Regions from separate parts of the Homo sapiens genome. Here all the other regions are linked to region 2. Evidence: promoter capture Hi-C in 16 types of primary human blood cells and fetal thymus (Javierre and others, 2016). All regions are on one chromosome and are shown on one strand. The core of a region is centred on a gene start or on the middle of the fragment in contact, and the rest is flanking DNA. Distances in the headings are between cores, read along the strand shown. Region 1 overlaps REST (RE1 silencing transcription factor). Region 2 holds the start of CEP135 (centrosomal protein 135). Region 3 has its middle 13 kb from the start of SPINK2. Region 4 holds the start of SRD5A3 (steroid 5 alpha-reductase 3).

Evidence for each region. Contacts are between HindIII fragments. The CHiCAGO score rates a contact against its expected background, and 5 or more counts as called.
Region 1: a fragment that was not itself captured here is called in contact with the fragment with the promoter of CEP135 in region 2 in 2 of 17 cell types (total B cells and activated CD4 T cells); the score reaches 9.4 in total B cells.
Region 3: a fragment that was not itself captured here is called in contact with the fragment with the promoter of CEP135 in region 2 in 5 of 17 cell types (total CD8 T cells, total B cells, erythroblasts and 2 more); the score reaches 6.4 in total CD8 T cells.
Region 4: the fragment with the promoter of SRD5A3 here is called in contact with the fragment with the promoter of CEP135 in region 2 in 8 of 17 cell types (naive CD8 T cells, activated CD4 T cells, total B cells and 5 more); the score reaches 10.4 in naive CD8 T cells.

The regions. Positions count from the first base shown.
Region 1 is chr4:56,912,631-56,915,330 of GRCh38, reverse strand. The region is part of intron 2 of REST (RE1 silencing transcription factor); the gene reads right to left. Among named protein-coding and RNA genes, the nearest start is that of REST, 6.1 kb to the right of the region's middle. RefSeq lists an enhancer at 63-563. The HindIII fragment of the contact is 4,758 bases long and covers 1-2,700 here.
Region 2 is chr4:55,947,676-55,950,375 of GRCh38, reverse strand. CEP135 (centrosomal protein 135) reads right to left here and starts at 1,431. Exons shown (of 26, transcript NM_025009.5): 1 at 1,317-1,431. It overlaps EXOC1-AS1 (EXOC1 antisense RNA 1), which reads left to right and starts at 2,364. Exons shown (of 5, transcript XR_941069.4): 1 at 2,364-2,536. RefSeq lists silencers at 1,026-1,485, 1,536-1,675 and enhancers at 890-1,854, 2,473-2,622. The HindIII fragment of the contact is 6,740 bases long and covers 1-2,700 here.
Region 3 is chr4:56,833,497-56,836,196 of GRCh38, reverse strand. No RefSeq gene overlaps it. Among named protein-coding and RNA genes, the nearest start is that of SPINK2, 13 kb to the right of the region's middle. The HindIII fragment of the contact is 4,006 bases long and covers 1-2,700 here.
Region 4 is chr4:55,344,770-55,347,739 of GRCh38, reverse strand. It overlaps SRD5A3 (steroid 5 alpha-reductase 3), which reads right to left and starts at 1,498. Exons shown (of 5, transcript NM_024592.5): 1 at 1,183-1,498. The coding sequence starts at 1,403. RefSeq lists silencers at 916-1,185, 1,396-1,565 and an enhancer at 1,017-1,777. The HindIII fragment of the contact is 3,550 bases long and covers 1-2,542 here.

The DNA of each region.
Region 1 (2,700 bases), core at 158-2,657, 960 kb before region 2:
GAGGTTGCAGTGAACAGAGATCACGCCATTGCACTCCAGCCTGAGCAACAGAGCAAGACTCCATCTCAAAAAAAAAAAAAAAAAAAAAAATACACACACACACACACACAAAATTGGCCAGGCGTGGTGGCTCACGCCTGTAATCTTTGGGAGGCCGCGGCGGGTGGATCACTTGAGGCCGGGAGTTCGAGACCAGCCTGCCCAACATGGAGAAACCTTGTCTCTACTAAAAATACAAAATTAGCAGGTGTGGTGGCGCATGCCTGGAATCCCAGCTACTCAGGAGGCTGAGGCAGGATAATTGCTTGTACCTGGGAGGCGGAGGTTGCAGTGAGCCGAGATTGCACCATTGCACTCCACCCTGGGCGACAAGAGTAAAACTGTCTCAAAAAAAAAAAAAAAAAAAAAGTTAAAAAAAAAAAAAATCAGAATGAAGGTAATACTGGGGAAAAATAAGCATTAAGACCAAATAAACCAGGCCAGGCTTGGTGGCTCAGGCCTGTAATCCCAGCACTTCAGGAGGCTGAGGTGGGCAGACGACCTGAGGTCAGGAGTTCAAGACTAGCCTGGCCAACACGGTGAAACCACATCTCTACTGAAAATACAAAAATTAGCCGGGCATGGTGGAAGGCACCTGTAATCCCAGCTAAATGAATATGGTGTACTTATTTATGAGTTTAGTATATATGATGGCTGGGATTTAAGATATTGTAGGTAAGGCTGGTTTAGTCTAACAGTCTGTCTAATTCAAACTGTCAAGTGATTAATGGGGTTGTGTCCCCAAGTAACTTTCATTTCCTACTTTATGTATTTTTGTAATGCTTGACCTTTACTTCTGAAATCGAATGGTTTCAAAGCATCGAGACAATCAATCACAGCTTATGACAAATTCCAAAGGGACTACAAATTCTTTTACTGGACTAAATTTTAAAGCATTCAACACATGAGCCATCCATCTGCTGGGGCTTAGCAATCCTGTAACAGAGGTCACTCTTGTAATGGAATTTCACCTGCAAGTTTTATTGTTTAAGCCTGCCAGTTAATAGTTTTAAGTATCTGGGATATAAAAAATAAGTAAATAAAATAAATTTTTAAAAATTAAGTCGCTGGATACGGTGGCTCACACCCATAATCCCAGCACTTTGGGAGGCTAAGGGCAGATTACTTGAGCTCAGGAGTTACAGACCAATCTGGGCAACATGGCGAAACCCTGTCTCTACCATACAAATATCAGCCAGGTGTGGTGGCATGCGTCTGTGGTCCCAGCTACCTGGGGGACTGAGGCGAGAGGGTCACAAGTCCAGGAGGTCAAGGCTGCAGTGAGCAGTGATCTCGCCACTGCACTCCAGGATGGGTGACAAAGTAAAACTATCTCAAAAAAAAAACTGGCCAGGCGCGGTGGCTCACGCCTGTAATCCCAGCACTTTGGGAGGCCGAGGCAGATCACGAGGTCAGGAGTTCGAGACTAGCCTGGCCAACATAGTGAAACCCCATCTCTACTAAAAAAACAAAAAATTAGCTAGCCATGGTGGTGGGCACCTATAATCCCAGCTACTGGGGAGGCTGAGGCATGAGAATCGCTTGAACCTGGGAGGTGGAGGTTGTAGTGAGCCGAGATCGCGTCACTGCACTCCAGCCTGGGGCACAGAGGGAGATCCTATCTCCAAAACAAAACAAAACAAAAATTAAGTCTACCACTCCACTTAAAGCAGCATCAATTCCCCTCCTCAGTGTCCCCTTTACCAGTGGGGTTCAGTCCTGTCAAGTGCCAACTCCTGTAAGAGGAGACCTGAGGCAAACAGCATCCCACACCCCCTATTCATTTGTGACCCCAAGAGTAGAGTACTGGATTATTCTCTATCCATTCATCAGGACCCAAATGTACCAATTCTTACCAAGAAAATGTAACAGAAATGTCCAAATGAGCTACCAATAGTTAAAAACATTTATTTGAAAAATGAGGCCCCTCAATTACAATATTTAAAACCCAATTTAAATTTTAAAAAATTAGGGTGTGGTAGGGCACATCTGTAGTCCCAGTTACTTTGGAGGTTGAGATGGGAGGACTGCCTGAACCCAGGAGGTAGAGGCTGTGGTGAGCTGTGATCACACCACTGCCTGGGCTCCAGGGTGAGACTCCATCTCAAATAAATCAATAAATGAATAAATAAATCCAATTAAAAAAACTACAGTGAACAGCAGCTGAATAAAACCCAATTTAAAAGTGAATGACTAGTATGCACAGTGGCTCACGCCTATAATCCCAACACTTGGGAAGACTGTGGCAGGAGGATCACTTGAGGCCAGGTGTTCAAGACCAGCCTGGGCAACATAGTGAGACCCCCCATCTCCACAAAAAGAAATTAAAAAAAAAAAAAAAGTTTCGGCTGGGTGCGGTAGCCCACCCCTATAATCCCAGCAATTTAGGAGGCCAAAGTGGGTAGATCACCTGAGGTCAGGAGTTTGAGACCAGCCTGGCCAATATGGCAAAACCCCATCTCTACTAAAAATACAAAAATTAGCCAGGGGTGGCACTCACGCCTGTAATCCCAGCATTCTGGGAGGCTGAGGTGGGCGGATCACGAGGTCAGGAGTTCAAGACCAGCCTGGGCAACATGGTGAAACCCCATCTCTACTAAAAATACAAAATCAGCTGGGTGTGGTGGTGGGCACCTATAGTCCCAGCCACTCAGGAGGCTG
Region 2 (2,700 bases), core at 182-2,681:
AAATGCATTACATGCATGAGCATACATGTAAAAGTCGATCCTCACAGCTACCCTGTGAGGGAGAAAGACCAATGATATTATCCCTACTTAAACATGAGGAAAGGCTGCCTCAAGAAAGTAACTCTTCCAAAACCACGGGGCCACAAAGTAGGTGGGCAGTCATCAGAGACCAGGTCTCCTGAGTCTCTCCTTGGTCACTCCTTTCTGTATATCTTTCTCTTTGCTCTTGTTAACTTTTTTTGAATGGCTTCCTCATAGATTTCCTAGGTTCTTTCCACAAGAGACACCTAAGTGATGCAGGGTTTTTAGGGAAATTCCTGCAGACATCAGAAATACACCTGACAAATCCAGGTGTATTACTAGCAGGGTGTAAACTTACAGGCGGTGCACCACTCAAAACATTTCCCCTCTTTGCTACCAACTCCAGTTACCCAGAGATAATACCTCCTCACATCCTGCTTTGGAGGGGAGAGAATGAGAATGAATATGAATCAATAAATCATGGCCAGGGCCTCAATACACAGGACGGATTAAAATCCTCCCAGATAGAAACATGTTAGGCCGTCCCCACCCATGAACTGTTGTCTTTCCCCATAACCCCCATCCAAATATGGTGGCTATACTCTAAGTTTCTAGCAAAGCAACATAAAAGGTTAGGTTTGGGGGTCCCCCATACATATATGTGTAGAAGTATCCATCTACTTAACTCTGGGGGTTGGCGTCTCAAAACCAGTACATTTAATGCTGTATGTATGTGTGCACAGGGCTTAAGAAGATAAACAAGAAACCCCAAACGACAACAAAGAAACCCGTTAGCTGTGGTTATCTCAGAGTCCTTTCTTATTGAACTCAAAGTAGTAAAGGCTGGAAAGCAGTGGAGAGGCTTCAAAGGAGCTGGGCAAAGGTTAATTAAAGGCTGTCGTCCTACGCTTTGCGACATTTTTGTTACAAAGAGCATGGATGACTGCTACACTGAGAAGGCATTTTAATGTTTAAATCTATCCATTGGTCAACAGCAAGCCTGTCTGCACGGCCCACACAGACGCTCCTTGACGAGTCGGCCCAAGCTCTCCTCCACCCAATCTCCGGTTTGCAACTTTACCGTCGGGTGTTGACGGGAAGGGGGTGTGGGAGCGGGGTGGGTGGGAAGAGTCCCCGCGCCCCTCCCCGCCCGGTCTGACCCGGCCTGGCCTCACTTCCTCCCGCGGCCGCGCGGCCTCCCGGCAGTGCCCGAGCCCGGCCCGCGGGTACCGCCCAGAAGGCGAAGGCGCCACCACCGCCGCAGCTGGCCCTCTGGCTCCCACATCCGGACTCACCGGCAGCTCCAGCCGCCGTTGCCTCCGCCTCCAGCCGCATTGCCCTCAGGCCTCGAGTCCCCCACTAGCTCCTTCCGTCCAGGCACGGGCTCCGGCGCTAGAGCAGTTTGAAAATGGCGCGGAGGGACGATCGGGGCCGACACGGAGGAGGCGCCGCGGTTGCCCCGGTAACGGGAGCGGCGGACGATTAGCGGCTCGCGGCGGGGACGCGCTTGGCGACGATGGCGGAGCCCCAGTGCCCGGAAATGCAACGGCCCGGACAGCGCGAGGCCACGGCGCCCCCTGGAGGTCGGCGCCCGCGGCCAGCAAATGCCAAACCTCAGCTGGTGCCTGAGCTGGCATCCTCTTCCTCCTGTCGGCGGGAGGTGTGGATCACCTACTGCGTGCGGGGAACAAACGCCGCCCCAGTACCGGTCCCTGCAGCGGAGTAGCCTTCACCTGCAAGGTGAACGCCTGCTCACCACGTAATCCCCAAACGCAGATATCACGTTGTCTCTGCAACTTTCCCTGACAACCACCCAATGCAATTAATTATCCCACAATAGTATCTCCCGCAGGCTCTCTGTAGAACCATAGAATTCATCCATCAAAATACAATCATTTGTTGATCCGTCTCTCTCTGCCGCCCCCAAATGTGAATTCCTTGAGTCAGAGACTATTCTACTCAGCAAAACATTTGTGAGTGGAATTAAATTGAAATAAACCGTTATAGTCCACTCACAGATGGAAAACACATAGTAAAATCCTAGAATTCCATTTCTCCCCTGAAAATTTCCCAGACAGTCAGAGGGAGTTTCATTCTTTCCTGTTTACTTTTCTCCCAAATAGGCCTTCTGAGGCAGCAGAATAGGGAAGGAAGTCAGAAGACTGACCAGCTCATACCTATGGAATGCCTATCATACATACACTTAAAATTATGGCAAGCTCACGCAGGCGCACTAAGAGAGAAAAAACAAGAAAACAGATATGACAATTATAGGAAATCCCCTCCCTAGAGTTAAAGAAGTGTAGGAAGTGGGTATAAAAGAACAAAGGCTATATTAATCCAGGGCTGACACCACTTGAAGATAAGCCCGTTCCTCTCTCTGGTATATTCTTTGCTTAATAAATCTTGTGGGGTGGTTATTTGTGTGTCTCATCCAATTCTTTGTTCATAACACCAAGAACCTGGAACTCCCAACTTCCAATCTGGTAACATATTTTGGTGAGCCAGCCAGGAGGTAAGCCCAGAAGAACTGGGACTTTTTATTTTCTTTCTTTTTTGCTTCAGCTCTTTCACTTTGGTTTAAAGCTGCCTTCTGCTGGCACGGATTGGGCAGTTAAGAACGAAAAAGGCACTGGCCGCTTGAAGACTCCCATTGTTGCGGGAAAGCAGAGGACCAGA
Region 3 (2,700 bases), core at 71-2,570, 890 kb before region 2:
TATGGTCCAAAGACAAGCAGCAGCAGCTTAACCTGGGAGCTTGTAGACAGGTGGAATTCTGGGCCTCGCCCTAGACTCACTGAATCTGAGTGATTCATATGGACATCAAAGTTTGAGAAGAACTGCTTTAGCCACATGGAGTCTCTTGGAATTCTCTAAAGGAGTCACGCTCGCCTTTGCACATGCTGATCTTCCCAAGTCAGAAATACCCCTTTCTCTATCTGCTAGGCAAGCTAGCCTCTTATTTACCCTTCTTATTTAACTAATCATCAGGGAACCGGCAAAAGAAGAAAGATAGGGGAGACTGGTAAATATATAGTCAGTGGGAAAAAGAATGCTGGGATAAGACTGCAATATGAAATATAACACTGCTTAATATTCACAGAGCAATGAAATGGCAACCTTTGGAGATATCTTTTCTTTCTTTCTTTTTTTAAACAAGAGTCTCGCTTCTTCGTTCATGCTGGAGTGCAATGGCGCGCTCTTGGCTCACTGCAATCTCCACCTCCTGGATTCAAGCAATTCTCCTGCCTCAGTCTCCCCAGTAGCTGGGATTACAGGCATGTGCCACCAAGCCTGGCTAATTTTTGTATTTTTAGTAGAGACTGGGTTTCACCCTGCTGGCCAGGCTGGTCTCAAACTCCTGAAGTGATCCACCTCAAGTGATCTACCCGCCTCGGCCTACCAAAGTGCTGGGATTACAGGCGTGAGACACCGCACCTGGCCTGGAGATATCTTTTCTACCCAACAAAATCATTTGCCACTTATTTTCCATAAGCTAACATCTAACTTTACAGACTCCGGACCCTATCAATGGTAAATAAATGAAATGAAATGACTTCCTCTACAATCAGACAACTTCCATGCCGGCCTTTTAGACAGTACTCTAGTATGACTTTGAAAGGACATATTTGGGCCGGGCGCGGTGGCTCACGCCTGTAATTCCAGCACTTTGGGAGGCCGAGGCGAGCGGATCACAAGGTCGAGAGATCGAGACCATCCTGACCAACATGGTGAAACCCTATCTCTAATAAAAATACAAAAAATTAGCTGGGCGTGGTGGTATGTGCCTGTAGTTCCAGCTACTCAGGAGGCTGAGGCAGGAGAATTGCTTGAAACCACCGGAAGGCGGAGGTTGCAGTGAGCCAAGATCATGTCACTGCACTCCAGCCTGTGCAACAAGAGCGAAACTCTGTCTCAAAAAAAAAAAAAAAGGACATATTTGGAGGACACATTAGGATAATTTTTCTTTTTTTTTTTTTTGAGATGGAGTCTGTCTCTGTCACCCAGGCTGGAGTGCAGTAACGTGATCTTGGCTCACTGCAACTTCTGCCTTCCGGTGGTTTCAAGCAATTCTCCTGCCTCAGCCTCCCGAGTAGCTGGGACTACAGGTGCCCACCACCACGCCCGGCTAATTTTTTTGTATTTTTAGTAGAGATGGGGTTTCACTGTGTTAGCCAGAATAGTCTCGATCTCCTGACCTCATGATCCACCCACGTTGACCTCCCTAAGTGCTGGGATTACAGGCTTGAGCCACTGCGCCTGGCCGGATAATTTTTCTTAAATGTTTAAACTTGGTGCCAGAGGCAATATGGAGCATACATGTTGGGTTGCCAACTTGATCCACAATTGAATTTGAATTATGTTAGCTTCAGGGGTAAAGTTTCTATCTACATCACAGAGCTGAATGGTAAGGAAAACCATATTGAATTAGGCTTGTCTTTTAATTTTTTGTAGAGATGGGACTCTCACAATGTTGCCCAGGTTAGTCTCAAATCCTGGCCTCAAGCGATCCTCCCATCTCCGCCTCCCAAAGTGCTGGGATTAGAACACCCAGCCAAATTCTATGTTTTGACCACTGTATTTTCCTAGCTGTTTTCCAGCTAATCAGAAGCACATACAAGTCAAAAATACCCAGAACACATAATTTCACAATACCTTGTAGAAAGCAGGGCAAGAACGGTTATATTAACATGTAATTCTAAGTCATATAATTGTTTTGTTTATGGTGAGCATATTTTGTAAAATAATTGGGATGCCTACTGCCTACTCTGACAAAAGTTGTTTTAATTTTTCTCATAGAAACTTGGGAATCTTTTAGTTGAAAGTTTCACAAATGTCTAAACATTAAATTACATTATGTTTAAATTGCCCTTCATTGTAGAATATAATAAAATTACCTATTCTTTTTTTTTTTTTTTTTTTTTTTTTTTGAGAAGGAGTTTCGCTCTTGTTGCCCATGCTGGAGTGCAATAATGGCCAGATCTCAGCTCATTGCAATCTCTGCCTCCTCCCAGGTTCAAGCAATTCTCCCGCCTTAGCCTCCTGAGTAGCTGGGATTACAGGCATGCGCCACCACGCCCGGCTAATTTTGTATTTTTTTTTTAGTAGAGATGGGATTTCTCCATGTTAGTCAGGCTGGTCTCAAACTTCTGACCTCAGGTGATCCTAACTGCCTACGGCCTCCCAAAGTGCTGGGATTACAGGCCTGAGCCACCGCACCCGGCTAAAATTACCTATTCTCAATACTTAGACTTAAGGCCACTACGATTTACTAGATCAGCATTAATTACTCAGGTTCATTTAAATCATGATGATGTTAAAGAAGGAAAAGAGAATCTGTATGCTCAGAATATTTTGAATTATATACCTTTATGGCCGGGCACACTGGCTCATGCCTATAATTCCAGCCCTTTGGGA
Region 4 (2,970 bases), core at 249-2,748, 600 kb after region 2:
TAGAAGCCAAATTATACTTGTCCCTTTGTTGCCTGCGGACCTGGGGCACTGCCTATGAGTGTTTCAAGCGACAACCCAGATGTTTTTAACCTTTAAAAAAAAATTTTTTTTAAATACAAGGTATTTCTCTGTTGCCCAGGCTAGAGTGCAGTGCCATGATTATAGCCCACTGCAGTCTCCAATGCCTGATCTCAGATGATCTTCCTGCCTTCATTCCAAGTAGCTGGCACTACAGGCACACGCCACCAAGCCCTGCCAATTTTTTGTATTTTCAGGAGAGACGGAGTCTCACTATATTTCCCAGCCTGGTCTCGAACTCCTGAACTCAAGCGATCCGCCTGCCTCAGCCTCCTAAAGTGCTGGGATTACAGGCGTGAGCCACTGCGCCCGGCCTAAGATGCATCTTAAGGGGCACTGTTCTATTTCTACCATCTCGAATAGTATTTGGCCAACTCTTTCCAGCTATGTCCTGAATTTAAAGTGGAAAAAGGAGAAGAAGAAAATTATAACAGGTCTCTATTTAAAACCTGACGATTTAATCCTTCGCTGAACTGGGTTACAGAATTTTTCGAAAGTCAAATGGAGCTTCGGGACGGGCCTGCCTATGACCTGCACCTTGGGCCACCTTCCCCAGGGGCACCTGCCAAGGTGCAGGTTAGGGCGACTCAGTCCTTTGTCCCCACTGCAAGGGTTGGGAAGAGAAACGGGGGAAGCCGAGGCCGAAGAGCCGGCCTAACTTCATTTCCACAAATGATTCCCGGTGACCTCAAGTTAGAGTATGAGCCACTGGAGTGCAGGGTACGGGAAAAAGGAGAATTTGGGGCAAGGGGCACTTCAATTTGCCGCCTAAATTCGCATGACCAGGCCTAAATTCGGATGCGTTGCCATTTCCCACAGGGAAAGGCTCCGTGCGGCTACCAGTTCACATTCCTCCAGCTGAGTGCAAGCGGCTCCGCTCTCCCTCGGCGTCCGCGGACACCCGGGCACTGCTCCCCGGAGCCACGCAGCAGCCGGGGCATGGCCGGGGCCAGGCCGAGGGAGCGCCGTGCTGCGCCCGGGAACCCGCCAGGGCCTCCCAGGCCGGGTCCCGCCTCTGCTGCCCCCTGCTGGCTGCCCGCGAGCCGGGGCGCCCCGAACTCTCAGCGCCTTGACCACCGCGGCTCGGGACCGGGGCGCGGTTACCTCTTGGGGACATCAAAGGCTCGGCAGGCGGCGGGGCGCGACGGCTCCCCACACTTGGTTTTCCCATAGCGGATCAGGTCCTGGAAGATCGCGCAGCCCGGGAGCAGGCCGGGCGGCAGGAGCTGCAGCAGTAGGGTCAGCAGGAAGGCGGCGGTCAGCGTGAGCCACACCGCGCGCAGCGGGTTCAGCGCCGAGTGCTCGGCCTCCGCCCAGGGAGCCATGGCCCGCGTGCCCGCCTTCCGCGCTGCTGGCGCCCCCACCGCCCGCTAGCCCGCGGAAGAGCGGCCACTAGCGCGCGGCGCACCGGTCTCAGCCTAGCGGGACGTCGGTGACGCGGCGCGGGGCGGGGACGCGCAGAGCCCCTCCCGGACTCGCCGCTCAGCCGCGGAGGTCCTTGGTCCTGGTCGCGCTGGCGCTGGGTGGTCGCTCGCAGTCCCTAATCTGGGCATGGGGATTCTTAGATGGAGCTCCAGAATATGATTCATCAGAAGCAAAGACGCAAAACAGACGAGACCACGTGTCTGCCACTCTTATCAACATTATCTCCAAAGCAAAAAATGGAAACCTTACATGTTGCATTTTAGTTTATTTAGCTAAATTATGATACACTGACATGTTAGAATATCATGCAGTCATTGAGAATTATTATGACGAGTGTAGAAACAGGGAAAGCTGTTTAGGAAACAATATGTGAAGTGAAAAACAAAACCAACCATAAAAATACATAGCTATGATTGCAAACAACTATATTAATATGAATGTGTGTATATATGGATAAAGAAGGCAGATCACACCCAAAAATGAATAATTATGTTAGGATGCTGGAAATGTGTTGGATATGTGTATAATGTAAACATGTAGACAAGTAATTGCACATAATAATAAAAATCATAGTGGTAAAAACTGTGTTTAAAAAACAGCAGTCGCTTACCAATAGGGTTCCAATCCTTAGAAGCAAAGTTTTTAAATTCCATCAGCTGTTTCCTGTAACATTTATCTCAGGTAGTGACAATGCTATTTATTGACTCACTGATTTTAAACAACACTGATTTTATTTACTATAAGTGAAAATCTAGCTCTTTTAAGTATTTAAAAGTCTTTAAAATGTTAATTCTGAAGTATTGTATGCCTACTGTATGACAGGCATCATTTTGGATACTGAGGACAGAGGGGTTTACAAGATAATTGTCACTGCTTATTTGGAGCTTACATTTTTGAGATTGGGTGGTGGGTGAGAAGTGGAAGAGGGGAGAGGTAGCCAACTCATCACCCTTACCCCAATGAGATACCCGATATGTGTGTTGAATAAACATCAGGGTGGGTAGGTTAGTGGGACTTTGGACTGTTAAATGAGCAAGCTTTTAAAGTTTTCTTCTTTGTGCAAAAGACACCTAAGGCTTTACCCGTCCTTTGACAGCCAGGTGATTAAGGATGGTTAAATTGGCATTCTAGCTAGGACAATGAGGCCTTATTGAGTGATCCTGGATCTCTTTTGCGGGAGTCACCCTTTCACTGTTTCTTTCTTTTCTTTTTTTTTTTTTTGAGATGGAGTCTCGCTTTGTCGCCCAGGCTGGAGTGCAGTGGCCTGATCTCTGCTCACTGCAAGCTCTGCCTCCCAGGTTCACACCATTCTCCTACCTCAGCCTCCCGAATAGCTGGGACTACAGGTGCCCCCCCAACCACGCCTGGCTTTTTTTTTTTTTTTTTTTTTGTATTTTTAGTGGAGATGGGGTTTCACTGTGTTAGCCAGGATGGTCTTGATCTCCTGACCTCGTGATCCATCTGCCT